Regions from separate parts of the Homo sapiens genome. Here regions 2, 3 and 4 are each linked to region 1. Evidence: promoter capture Hi-C in 16 types of primary human blood cells and fetal thymus (Javierre and others, 2016). All regions are on one chromosome and are shown on one strand. Each heading gives the region's core, a stretch centred on a gene start or on the middle of the fragment in contact. The rest is flanking DNA. Distances are from core to core; before and after follow the strand shown.

Region 1 (3,205 bases), core at 416-2,915:
TAAATTAAGCATTTTGTCGCATGTTCTCTGTACCAGGCACCATACTGAATTTGAATTGAAGGGTAAATAAAAATAATTCCTGCCCTCAGGAGGCTCACACTTAGCTGTGGGAGAGAGACATGTGTACAGCTGTCAAATTTAGCAGTCTGAAAAGTTTTGGTGGAACAGTACACACTAGGTAATGTGGGAGCAAGAGGGAGAGGGAGGTCAGAAAGGCTTTGACACATGAGGAGCAGTTCATGGAGCAGGGAAAAGGGAATGGCATCCATGCAGCTAGAATGCTACATAAAGGCACAGAGGTGTGAAAATGTAAGAGAAGGCTGGAGAATTGCATTTTTATTCTCTAATCAGGTTAATATTCCTGTTCACCAAGAAAGCTTTTAGCTAGCATATAACCCTCTTAGGTAATTGGAATTTGGGGGGCTATTTAATAGGAAACTTTTTCCTAGAGATGATATTTACCGTTGAAAACACGTAGCTCAGTATCAACTGGACTTACACCATATGTTCACTGACATTCTGCAGCAGGAAGGTCAGCGGCTCTAGAGCACCAACAAGAAGGTATCCAGAGAGAGCCCAGATTGGGCTGGGAGAATGGGTGAGTGTCAACTGGACTTACACCATGTGTTCACTGACATTCTGCAGCAGGAAGGTCAGCGGCTCTAGAGCACCAACAAGAAGGTATCCAGAGAGAGCCCAGATTGGGCTGGGAGAATGGGTGAGTGTCAACTGGACTTACACCATGTGTTCACTGACATTCTGCAGCAGGAAGGTCAGCGGCTCTAGAGCACCAACAAGAAGGTATCCAGAGAGAGCCCAGATTGGGCTGGGAGAATGGGTGAGAGAATGGGGACTCAGGGTCTTGTTAAAGGCAGAGCACAGGTTCTGAGAAGTTGGAAAGGGTTAGATGGGAGTGTGTGTGTGCAGGGGGATGTTGGAGCCTGGAAAATACCAACCATTTGTCTTTTACACTCTAAAGGTAGTTGTGCTCCCCAAGTGAATAAGGTGGGACATGTGCACGTCAGGTTTTCAGTGTGAAACCTGGTATATTTCCAAATGAAAGTGATTGGATTCAGGTGACCATTTAAATTATGTCTATGAAAAAAGAAAATAGACTTGGGGCCTTGATAAGCCTTTAGCTAGGGAAGTAGGAAAAAGACTCAAATGTCTGGGTTGGAGGGAAGACTCCTGTACTCAGTCTCAGATTGTTTTCCTTATTCACTTGCTTCAGAATAATCCAGGCTGCAAACTATTGGGACCCACCCCAGAACTACTGAATCACGATCTCTGAGGGTGGAATTCAGGAATGATGATAATTTCTCCAGGATATAGGGATTTTCCTTAGAGGGAAAAATAATTTGACCACAGGCCGTCCCAGCTCCTACCTCCGGACCTGGAGCTCGTGATTCCCAGGCTCTCATTCCGGTCTGCGGTGGCCGGCTCACCTGGCCTGTCTACCTGCGGGCGTGGCGGGGTTGGAGAGGGGAGCGGGACCCGCGACCCCGCCCCGTGGCCCGGCCGGAGCCCCGCCCCTCGGGGGCGGGTGGGGAGAGCTGCCGCGGCCGAGGCCCGCCCCAACCTTGGCTGCGCCAATCAGGCACTGCGATCTCAGACGTCGGGTTACGCGCGGCGCGGAGTCGGCGGCCGGGCGGAGGTACCGGCTCAGGCTTGGGATCCCGGCTGCGGGTTTGGCGGCGCTGCGCCGGCAGGCAGCGAGGCCGGGCGGGCCCTGGGCCCTCGCGCCCCTCCCGCGAGGCCTGTCATGCAGGGCCCCGCCGGGAACGCGAGCCGGGGACTGCCAGGCGGGCCGCCCTCCACAGTCGCGTCCGGGGCGGGCCGCTGCGAGAGCGGCGCGCTCATGCACAGCTTCGGCATCTTCCTGCAGGGGCTGCTCGGCGTCGTGGCCTTCAGCACGTTAATGCGTGAGTCTGGGACCCCCCGACCCTCCGGAGGCCCTGCGCGGCAGCCGCGGCCCGGCCCCCCTGGGGGCCCCTCCTGCGCGGAGAGTTCAGGCCTTGGGACCCGAATTGCTCCTCCCCCGCAAACCCAGGCTGGGTATTCCTGCACTAGGGGTAGCCCGAGCCCCTCACCTACTCGCTGTGGCCTCCAGACAGGAGTGACCCTTCCCCTTTCCACCTTAAACGTCTGTCTTTTGAGACGCCAGTCTAAAACTCGCCTACCTCCCACCTTACCATCTCGAATTGTTACCCCACTTCCCAGCCTGGAATCATGACCCCCAAGGGTGACATCCCCTTGTCCGCCCCTTCTCAGGGGCTCTTCGTGCTTAGAACCCACATCCCTCAATCCCCAGTGCGATGCTGAGCTCTTTTCTGCCCCTTCACTCTTCAAGGATCTGCCTTCTCCGTTCACATTTAAATCCTGCTACTTTGCATCCCTCTCAACACCTGGAGTGTTAGGGCCATGCCTTCCGTTTCCCAGTACCCGCCTCCCTCTCCGTGGCCCTTCTTCCTCAGCTTTAGTTTCCCTTTTGTCAGGGTAGGACCCACCCAGTCTGCCTTCTTCCCCAGATCCCCTTCCTCTCGTTTCTTCCGGAACAGGCCCACCTGTTCCATCTCTGTCCCAAGCTTTCCTAATAAGCCGCATCTATAGCTTCCCCTGGCTGTTCCCTTTCCACTTTTATTCTTTATATTTTAAGTTTCCTTTTCCATTAAACTTGGGCACCTTAGTGGCTGAATAGAGAAGGAAGCCCCCACCCTGTTCTCATGTGTGCTGATGGGGGGTGGGGGGGGGCTTCTGTTTTTCATCGTGTGCATCCTTCCCTTATTAAAGTAACAAGAAGTTTTGCTCGACATGTAAGCCTAGGAGTGCCCTTGTGACTGCGTTTTAGGGGGAAGGAAAGGTTATAACTATCTGTGCAGAGTCATTAATTCCAAAAATGACTTGTTCTCAAAACTTCCCCACTGTGCTTGTGTGGACAGAGTGGAGAGTTCCTGCAGAAAGTATGCTTTGGGGTACTCAGGAGGGATCTTGCAGCTGTGTGCCTTTGTCTTGTGGGGTCCAGTTGCTGGAGTGGCCACCTTGCTTGTTTATAACTTGGGGTTTCTTTGAGTGAATTCTCTCAGGCTTTAAGTAACCCTGAAGAGGCTCTGATCATGGATACCGCGTTCTTCTGGTGGCCTGTCCTTGATAAGTCTTATAAGTGCCCAACTGTCTATGTTTGCCACTTTTTCTTTCCTTTTTAGTC
Region 2 (3,205 bases), core at 505-3,004, 120 kb after region 1:
GCAGGGAGGCCTGGCAGATAAAGGGGAGCTGAAGATGAATGACATGTTTTCATAATCGAGGACTCATTTGTGTCATGCATTCCTCTAAACCCTTTATTGTCTAATTTTATCCTCGCAACGTTCCTGGGACACTGGCCCCATACCAAGAGACAGAACAGGGATTCAAACCAGGTCTCTCAGGCTCTAAAGCCCAAGGCCATCATGTAATGACAGAGAAGCAGACTTGAAGATCCTAGAGACAGGAGTTCCCAGAGACCCATCTTGCACCTGCAGTTTCTTATTTTTTTATTGCCAAACCCACCCTGTTCCCCAAAAACCACAGCATACTGGGCAGACAGGGCCCCTGGCCAGTCTAGTCTGTGACCTGGGTTGGGATGTGCTGGCTGCTGTGACCCTGATAAGAGGAGGGGGCCCAGAGCCCTCACTGATCTCTGTTTGCTTGTCCTGGACTTTGTCTCACAGAGCAGCTTCTGGGAAGAGTTTATTGTCCTTAGGCCACGGTCACCTTCTGGCCTGTCTTCTGGCCTTTGTAGAAGAGAAGCTGGATCGACATGACAGTGTACATTTGAAGTTCTGCTTATTTCCTGCACCAGTATCGACCAAGCCCTGCAGTGTGTTGGGCACAATGCCAGGCACTGAGAGGCCACCATACAGAAACCTGAGTGCCCTGCTGTGTTCAGTGAGCTGATGTCAGGGGAAAAGGGAATCAGACAAGTCAAAGGGAGCCCACTGAATCCCAAGGAGTGATGAGAAGCTGAAGAGATAGAAATTTGGAGGGGCAGAGGCTCATCTCCTGCAGGGATTAGGAGAAGGTTCCTGGATGAGGTGCCTGGAAAAAAGAGCAGTGCTTGGGAAGGGGAAGGCGGGAAGGGAGGGAGAGAAAAGCAGACGGGCAGGTGGGATGTATGCTGTGGGAAGGTAGAGGTGTCTGGGATGGGAGCAGGAGCTGATGAAGAGGGTAGGGAAGGTGGCTGGGAAGGGGGTTGGGACCAGCTGGCGCAGGGGTCTGAAAGTGATTAGCCTTTTGGGTGGGAGATACTTAAGATATTTTAAGCAAGGGTGTGATGAGTTCAAGACTGGGCTGTTGAGAGATGGCTAGCACCAAGCCTGGTCCATGTAAAGTGCTAGAAGCATGTTTGCACAGGGGGAGGGTGGACAGGAGATGGGGAGAGCTAACTATGACCTGTGCCTGTCATGCTTCTTAGCATCACGTCCGAATTCATTTACTGCTCACAACTCCCCACAAGAGACAGATATTATTGTTACTATTATCCTCATGGTACAGAGAAAGAGACGTTGGCCCACCATATGCATGTGGGAGGTGGGGGCCAGGGTGGACAGAAAGCAGCTATGGTTGCTGAGGATTGAGAATGGGGAGTGTAGCTGTGCTGCTGGTGCCGGTGGGACAGCACATGGGCCCAGACCTGCTCTGAGCGCCACCCACACACAGCCAACTGTCTGCTTGATGTGCCCACAGCCCCTCCATCTGGTATGTCCAAACTGAACTCCTGACCTTTGTCTCCTCCTCCCCACACCCCGTTACTAAGCCAGATCTTCCCCCTGTTGTCCACTCCAGTCAAGGCCACCGCCATCTAGTTGGCCATCCAAGCCAGAAGGCTGGGTGGCATCCTGGGTGCCTCAGTCTCCTTGACCACCTACCCCACCTCCCACCCTCTGAATATCCCTCTAATCCATTAACTTCTCTCCCCATCCCCCGTCACCACCTAGTTCAAGCTGCCCTCATCCCTCATTTAGACGGCTCATCTCCTCCTTCTGCTCTGCTCCAGGCAGCAGCCAGAGTCACCATTTAGAAAGGTCAGTCTGCCGCAGGCCTTTCCCTGTCTCGCACACCCTATCCTGAGTGGTATGGCCCCTGCTGACCCCTCTATGTCACCTAGCCCATGGCCCCTCTGAGTCTCTCAGCTTCAACTGCAGAGACTTCTTTTAGATCCAGGTAGGCAGGTGCTTCTCCATTCATTCATTCAGCAAGCGGCAATTCCTTCATTTATACCTGCTGGGTTTAGGGTGTTGAAGCAGACAGGCCTGGCCTCGTCCTCAGGGAGTTCACATTGCGGTGTGGAGGTAAAGTCACAAAATGAATCCACTGGATCTTAGCACATGTTGCTCCTCTGCCTGAAAAAGTTTTTGTTTAAACTTCCACTCATGCGGTGCTTGCTTGGGGCAACCTCTCCTGGATGGCCAGGCTGGGCCTGGCGGCTTTTCTGAACAGTACTGACCTCAGTTGGCAAGGGTAGCTTGTTAGTATGCATGGCCGTCTCCCTCTTCGACAGTAAGCCCCACATGGGCAGGCCCTTGTCTGTCTTGTTCATAGTTGTCCTCCAGGTCCAGGCTAGTAGACCCTTGCTAAATGTCTGTAGAATGAATGATAGGTTTTTTTTTTTTTTTTTTTTTTTAGAAGGAGTATTGCTCTGTCGCCCAGGCTGGAGTGCAGTGACATGATCTTGGCCCAATGCAATCTCCGCCTCCCGGGTTCACGTGATTCTCATGCCTCGGCCTCCTGAGTAGCTGGGATTACAGGAGCAGTGTGCCATAATTTTTTATTGTGGTAAAATATACAAAACATAAAATTTATTATTTAACCATTTTTAAGAATACAGTTCGGTGGCATAAGTACATTCATGTTTTGCATCCATCACCACCATCCATCTCCAGGACTTTTTCATTTTCCCCAGCTAAAACTCTGCACCCATTAAACACCAACCACCAATTCCCTCCTCTCTCCAACAACTGGCAACCACCATTCTACTTTCTGAATCTATGACTTTGACTACTACAGGTACCTCACATAAGCGAAATCATACTTTTGTCCTCTGTGACTGCCTTATTTTGTTTAGCATAATGTCCTCAGGGGTCGTCCATGTTGTAGCATGTCAGAACATCCTTCCTTTTTAAAAATTTATTTATTTTGAGACAGAGTCTCACTCTGTCACTCAGCTGGAGTGCAGTGGCAGGATCATGGCTCACTGCAGCCTCAACCTCCGAGGCTCAACTGATTCTCCCACCTCAGCCTCCCAGGTAGCTGGGACTACAGGCATGCGCCACCACACCCAGCTAATTTTAAAAATTTTTTGTAGAGAAGGGGGTCTCACTGTGTTTCGTAGGCTGGTCTCAAGTGATCCTCCCACCTTGGCCTCTCAAAGTGCTGGGATTAGGTGTGAGTCATAGTGTGTGGCCTCTAGAGCAC
Region 3 (3,205 bases), core at 389-2,888, 120 kb before region 1:
GGAAGAGGCATGGGATGCTTTATTTCGTGGGGTTGTTTCATATGAGTACTGGTATTTCTCCAAGTTGCTCTTTAAGTTCCTTCTTGTTCCATGAGAGTGCTTCATGTTGCAGTCCTGTCACTCTTCTGTTGGAGGAAGGTTTCCTTTACTAACTGTGTAAGACTTAATGTAGAATAGACATGGGAGACTACACTTCTGATCTGATTAGCCTATAAACCCCCAAGAGGGTAGGGATTTTGTTTTGCTCACTATTTCATCCCTGGATCCTGGAACAGTACCTAGCAGGTAGTAGGAATTCAAGAAATACCTGTTGAGTGAATTAATAAAAGAACTGCCAAATAAAAAATAAGTGTCACTATACTAGTGGACCTGGAGAGTAAAGTGACTGCAACATCCTCAAAATGAAAATATTTCCTGTTTTATCCAGAGATCACATTCTTACCTAAAGTAGTATGGTGTGCAGAAATATTATGGGCACTAGATTAGACAGGCATGGATCCCATCTTTATCTTCTAACAGCTTGGGTGTGTTTCTTAGCCTTAGTTTCATTTTCTTTAAGATGGGACTAGTAATAATGTACTTTGCAGAATTACTGTATATTTGTATACTGTATATAAAGTACTCAGCATAGTAGCATAGTAGATCCTCAACAAAAGGAGGATCTCATTCGTTCCTATTTTTCTTAGTGGTTATATAAGTCTAGACACTGGAGACGAATCTAGTTAACAATAATCAGTTTTACAGATGGGAAAAATAAAAAGGAAATTGGATCTTTCCAATGTGAATCAAAATAGAAATTTCCAATGTGAAAGGCAAAACAATAAGCGAAGATCTTTGTGGTTTCAGAATGGGGAAGAATTTCTTAAAATAAGAGGCAAAAAGCACTAACTGTAAAGGAAAGGGTTGATAAATATGACTACATTAAAATTAAAACCATTATCAACAGACGACATAAAGAGAGTGAAAAAATGAGCCACAGAATGGGAGAATAAATAATCACATAGAACTGTCAGAATATGTGAGGAATTCCTTCAAATCAATAAATAAGGAAGACAGCCCAGTAGGAAAATGACTTGAGAAGGCACTTCTCAAAAGAGGGAATCCAGTGGTCAGTAAACATAAGAAAAGGCATTGTCTCACTTTAATTGGGGGATGCAAATTAAAACACGGGGATATGTCATTACACACTCACTAGATTTGCAGGAATTTTAAAACCCACTGTCACTGAGTACGTAGAGCCACTGGAGCTGTTATTCACGCTTGTGGTATGTGTGTTGATACAACCACATTGGGAAGGTTGGACATTGATTGTATGCTTTGAAAGTTGGATATATGTTCACCCTGACCTCAGCTAGATTGACATGTCTTTGGCTTGAGGCAATCTCTGGAGGTTCGCACCGCAATCCATGATCAAGACTATGATGGTAAGTGTTATTAGAGCTCAGAGAGTGTAGTAGTGTCTGGTGTGCTGAGCTGGACCAAGCAAATTCCTCCTGCTTTGGAGTTAGAGGTGTAAGCTTAAAGTTCTGGGTTTTGTTTTTTTTTTTCACTTTGTCCTTTAATTTATTAATGATTATTTTCTAAATGTTAGAAATTCCTAACTTTATTTTCTTTTACTGCTAAAAGTAGGGTGCTAGAAAGACAGTATTCTAAATCAAAGAAAAACCATAGTATACTGTTCTTGATGAAATAAGTCTTCCCTACTGCAGGCCTTGCTGTGTGAAGAAGAAAAATGAGAAGCAAACAATTGTAAGCTTTTTCTTATTTAAAAAATAAGAGGAAAATCACCTACTTAAAGTATACAATTCATTGGTTTTCAGTATATTTACAGGGTAGTGTAACCATCATGATAATCTAATTTTAGAACATTTTCATTATTCCAGAAAAAAAACCTTGTACCCATTAGCAGTTATGCCCTTTCCCTGCTTTTTCAGCCTAAGGCAACCACTAATTTACTTTCTGTCTCTCTAGATTTGCCTATGGTGGACATTTTGTGTAAATGATATCATATAATATGTGGTCTTTTGGACCTGGTGTTAATTTAGCATAAAGTTTTTGAAGTTCATCCATATTGTGTGTGTATCAGTATTTCATTTGTTTTTATTACCAGATAATAGTCTACTATATGGCTATGTCACATCTTATTTATCTACTCATCAGTTGATGAACATTTGGGTTGTTTGTACATTTTGGCTGTTGTCAGTAATGCTGCTGTGAACATTGCTATACAAGTTTTTGTGTGAACATTTGTTTTCATTTCTCTTGGGTATATACCTAGGAGTGGAATTGCTGGGTCTATGGTAACTCTTATGTTTAACTTTTTGAAGAACTGCCAAACTGTTTTTTCAAATTGCCTATACCATTTTACCTTCTGGTTTCTCCACATCCTTGACAGCACTTGTTATTCTCTATTTTTTTTTTATGATAACCATTCTTGTAGCTTTAATTGGGGTATTGCCAATTAAAATACAATGATTTTTTTTTTTTTTCCTTGGGACAGGGTCTCTCTCACCTGTCACCCAGGCTGGAGTGCAGTGGCATGATCTTGGCTCACTGCAACCTCTGCCTCCTGAGTTCAAATGATCCTTCCACTCAGCCTCCTCAGTAGCTGTGACTACAGGCGTACACCACCATGCCCAGCTAAGTTTTGTAGAGACGAGGTTTCACCATGTTACCCAGGCTGGCCTCCCACTCCTGGGCTCAAGCGATCTGCTGTGCCAGCCTCCCAAAGTGCTGGGATTACAGGCATGAGCCACTGCTCCCGGTCCTATTACTTTTTATATAACTCAAACATGATTCTGGCTTTTTAAATGACATTTGTTGAGGGAGGTTGCTTTATGCTTTCATTTTGGGGGTCCTCCAGATTCATAGTTTCTCTCTGCTGTATTAACATTTATGCTGGCTGTGTCTTTATTCATTCACTCACTCCATCACACACTGAGGGCCTGTCCTTTAGAGTCTAGTCCCAAGAGAGCCTAGGACTCACCCCTGTCAGAGACTGTGACACCTGATTTTGTGTTGCGAAAATAAAGAATATTGTAAAAATAGTTGTACAGTTTATAAGGTAGACTAGATGTACTACTGTTGGTCTCCAGAGCTTTTTATGAAGATCTGTTATCAGTAAAAGCTCTCAGATAGGTTTCTTCTTGTTAGTTGATTCATTGGGTGGTGGTTCTAGAAACTGTTTTGTTTTGTTTTGTTTTGT
Region 4 (3,205 bases), core at 397-2,896, 87 kb before region 1:
CACCTGCCCACCTCGGCTTCCCAAAGTATTGGATTACAGACGTGAGCCATGGCGCCCGACCAAAAAAATATTTTTGTACAGCTATACAGTGTTTGTATTTTAAGCTATGTGTTATTACAAGAAAGTCAAAAAAATTTTAAAAATCAAAAAGTTTATAAAGTTACAGTAAGCTAAGGTTAATTTATTATGGAAGGAAGAAAAGTATTCTTAAAACAAATTTAATGTGGCTTACATGTGCAGTGTTTAGAAAGTCTACAGTAGTATACAGTAATATCCCAGGCCTTCACATTCACTCACCACTGACTGACTCACCCAGAACAACTTCCCAGTCCTGCAAGCTCCATTCATGATAAGTGCCCTATATAAGTGTTCCATTTTTTATCTTTTTTTTTTTTTTTTTCCTGAGACGGAGTCTCACTCTGTCTCCCAGGCTGAAGTGTAGTGGCATGATCTCAGCTCACTGCAACCTCCACCTCCCAGGTTCAAGCAATTCTCCTGCCTCAGCCTCCTGAGTAGCTGGGACTACAGGCGCCCACTACCACACCGAGCTAATTTTTGTATTTTTAGTAGAGACGGGGTTTCACCATGTTGGCCAGGCTGGTCTCAAACTCTTCACCTCAAATGATCTGCCCACCTTGGCCTCCCAAAGTGCTGGGATTACAGGCGTGAGCCACCTCGCCTGGCCTCATTTTTTATCTTTTATGATATATTTTGACTACACCTTTCCTATGTTTAAATATGTTTAGATACACAAATACTTACCATTGTGTTACAGTTGCCTACAGGTTTGTAGCCTAGGGGCAATAGGCTACACCGTATAGCCTAGGTGTATAGTAGGCCGCACCATCTAGGTTTGCGTAAGTATACCCTATGATGTTCGAATAATGACAAAATTGCCAAACAACAAATTTCTCAGAACATATCCTCATTATTAAGCGATGCATGACTGTGTATGAACTGACATGTTAACTTTTCCTCATCTGTAAAATGGAATTATCATTGTATGAGTTAAGCAGAATAGGATTAAATAAAAGATTATTAAAAAATAATAAACACTTAAATATTAAGCTTACCATGTGTTGGACAGTGTTCTGTGTGCCTAATTATTTAGTATACAATACATAAAAAGTGCCAGGCACATACATAGTAGGTACTCAAATAATCTTTTCTTTTTTCTTGATAAATGGTTAACAAGCATTTGTTCTGTTGAGATGAAGTTTCTGATCTGTGACTTGACATGAGAAAGCTGAGAAACAGCAACCATGAAATTACAGAATAATTTCAAGTCTTTTCATAACTGAACATGGTCTTTTCCTATAATCTTTTTATAATACTATTGGAATTGGTATGTTTTGACAGTGCTTGTGTTGGTGAATCAAATAGCTCCTGATTTAATCAGAACAAAGACATACTGTTTCAACATGTGCTCATGTTACTGGCTCCCATAAATAAAGCATTTAATTGATGAAAATGTAATCATATTTGAACTCTGGAAGAGCTACCGTTCCAGCCTATAAGATAATATAAGGATAAAGAATGATTTTAAATGCTTTTGACATATTCTGGTACAGTGAAAGATAATTTCAAAACTGCAATTTAGTCGTCTTGGTATCTGGCAAAGAGGAGGTGCTCAATATCCTGGTACTAATCAGTAATTGCTAAGGAAGCCGGGCTGCGAAGTGGTCATACTTAGCCAACTGTGGACCAGGGATTTATAGGGTGGTCAGCCTGATATTTCCAAACTCATTATAGTATGAATCATTATAGTATGAATAGACACACACACACACACACACACACACACACACACACACACACAGTATTTAGTATAGTATTCAGTATATATTATAATAATATATATTACCTATATTCAATATAGTATTCATTATAGTATGAATTTTTAAAGATTATTTATGCCTGAGATTATTGAAAGACATACATTAAAGAAAGCTAGAAAATTTGTCATTGAAGTGCCTGTATTGGAAAGTATGTGGGTGTTGAAATTGGAATGTTAAAAAACAAGGCAGCATAAATTACTGAATTGCTATGGGGAAATGCCTTCAAGGCTGATTGGTAAACCTAGAGAACGTGAAATGTAAGATGGGATTGAAGCCAACAAGGAGGTTCCCAAGGGGCAAAAAAAAAAAGAATTGGCCCCATTCTTGCTGTCTAAAAAAGTTTTTTATGATGTTCAAATGAAGCATCGTGGGTGAAAAAAAGCTTATAAATTGGAGACACTACACAGATAGTAATTATACTTTTGTTGATTGAAAACATTTTCCTGAAAACTCCAAGAACAAACCTTTAGTGGTGAGGGAAGTAATCATATTGCCCTATTTTGCACTGAAGCTCATCATAATTTTTCTTCCTCAAACCATTCCTACTTCAGACTTCCCTTTTTCCATAAGTGGCAGTTCTATCCTTCCAGTTGCTTAAGCCAGAAACTTCAGTCAGCCCAGATACTGCTCTTTCTCTCATACACCAAATCCATCTTACATCTTCCTCCACATTTTCACTTCTCCTGTCCTAGACCTAGCCACCAACACCTTTCACTTGGATTATTCTGTGGTCTTTTTAGTTGGTCTTCCTGCTTCTGCTCTTGCTTTCTTCTCACATAGCTGCAGAGTGATCCTTTTAAAAGATAAATCAAATTATGTTCCTCCTCTGCTCAGAATCCTTCAATGGCTTCCCCAAAGCCAAAATCTTCACAGCAGCCTGCAAGTTCATATAAAATATGACTCCCTGATAGCTTCCTGAGTTCATCTCCTAGCATCTCTGCTGTGATCATTTTGTTCCAACCACTGTGGCCTCAAATACGCCACACAAGCTCCCACTTCAGAGACTTTGCTCTTTTTGTTTTTCTGCCTTGAATATTCTTCCGCACGTACCCACATGGCTCACTTCCTCATTTCCCTCTGGTGTTGTTTTGTGTTACCTCAACACTAAGGCTTTGATCACTCTGTTAAAAGTAGGACTCCCTGTCCTCCTCCCTTGTTCAGTTTTTTTCTCCTAACATTTGTTTTCATTCAACATACATATTATAGTTGACCCTTGAACAACACAGGGGTGTTGACCCCACACGCAGTTGAAGATTTGCATATAACTTTTGACTTCTCAAAAACTTTACTAATAGCCTACTGTTGACCAGAAGCCTTACCACAATAACATAAGCAGTCAATCAACACGTATTTTATATGTTATATAT

The links. The method cuts DNA at HindIII sites, captures the fragments that hold promoters and counts their contacts. A CHiCAGO score of 5 or more calls a contact.
Region 2: a fragment that was not itself captured here is called in contact with the fragment with the promoter of STIMATE in region 1 in 2 of 17 cell types (M0 macrophages and total B cells); the score reaches 5.3 in M0 macrophages.
Region 3: a contact is called between a fragment that was not itself captured here and the fragment with the promoter of STIMATE in region 1, in 1 of 17 cell types (total B cells). The highest score is 5.1, in total B cells.
Region 4: a fragment that was not itself captured here is called in contact with the fragment with the promoter of STIMATE in region 1 in 1 of 17 cell types (M2 macrophages); the score reaches 5.3 in M2 macrophages.

Annotation. Positions count from the first base shown.
Region 1 is chr3:52,896,008-52,899,212 of GRCh38, reverse strand. It overlaps STIMATE (STIM activating enhancer), which reads left to right and starts at 1,665. Exons shown (of 8, transcript NM_198563.5): 1 at 1,665-1,922. The coding sequence starts at 1,763. It overlaps STIMATE-MUSTN1 (STIMATE-MUSTN1 readthrough), which reads left to right and starts at 1,665. Exons shown (of 10, transcript NM_001198974.3): 1 at 1,665-1,922. The coding sequence starts at 1,763. RefSeq lists a silencer at 1,403-2,112. The HindIII fragment of the contact is 2,208 bases long and covers 380-2,587 here.
Region 2 is chr3:52,772,836-52,776,040 of GRCh38, reverse strand. No RefSeq gene overlaps it. Among named protein-coding and RNA genes, the nearest start is that of ITIH1, 3.2 kb to the left of the region's middle. The HindIII fragment of the contact is 6,310 bases long and covers 1-3,205 here.
Region 3 is chr3:53,014,500-53,017,704 of GRCh38, reverse strand. The region is part of intron 1 of SFMBT1 (Scm like with four mbt domains 1); the gene reads left to right. Among named protein-coding and RNA genes, the nearest start is that of SFMBT1, 30 kb to the left of the region's middle. The HindIII fragment of the contact is 237 bases long and covers 1,520-1,756 here.
Region 4 is chr3:52,983,341-52,986,545 of GRCh38, reverse strand. The region is part of intron 1 of SFMBT1 (Scm like with four mbt domains 1); the gene reads left to right. Among named protein-coding and RNA genes, the nearest start is that of SFMBT1, 61 kb to the left of the region's middle. The HindIII fragment of the contact is 1,152 bases long and covers 1,071-2,222 here.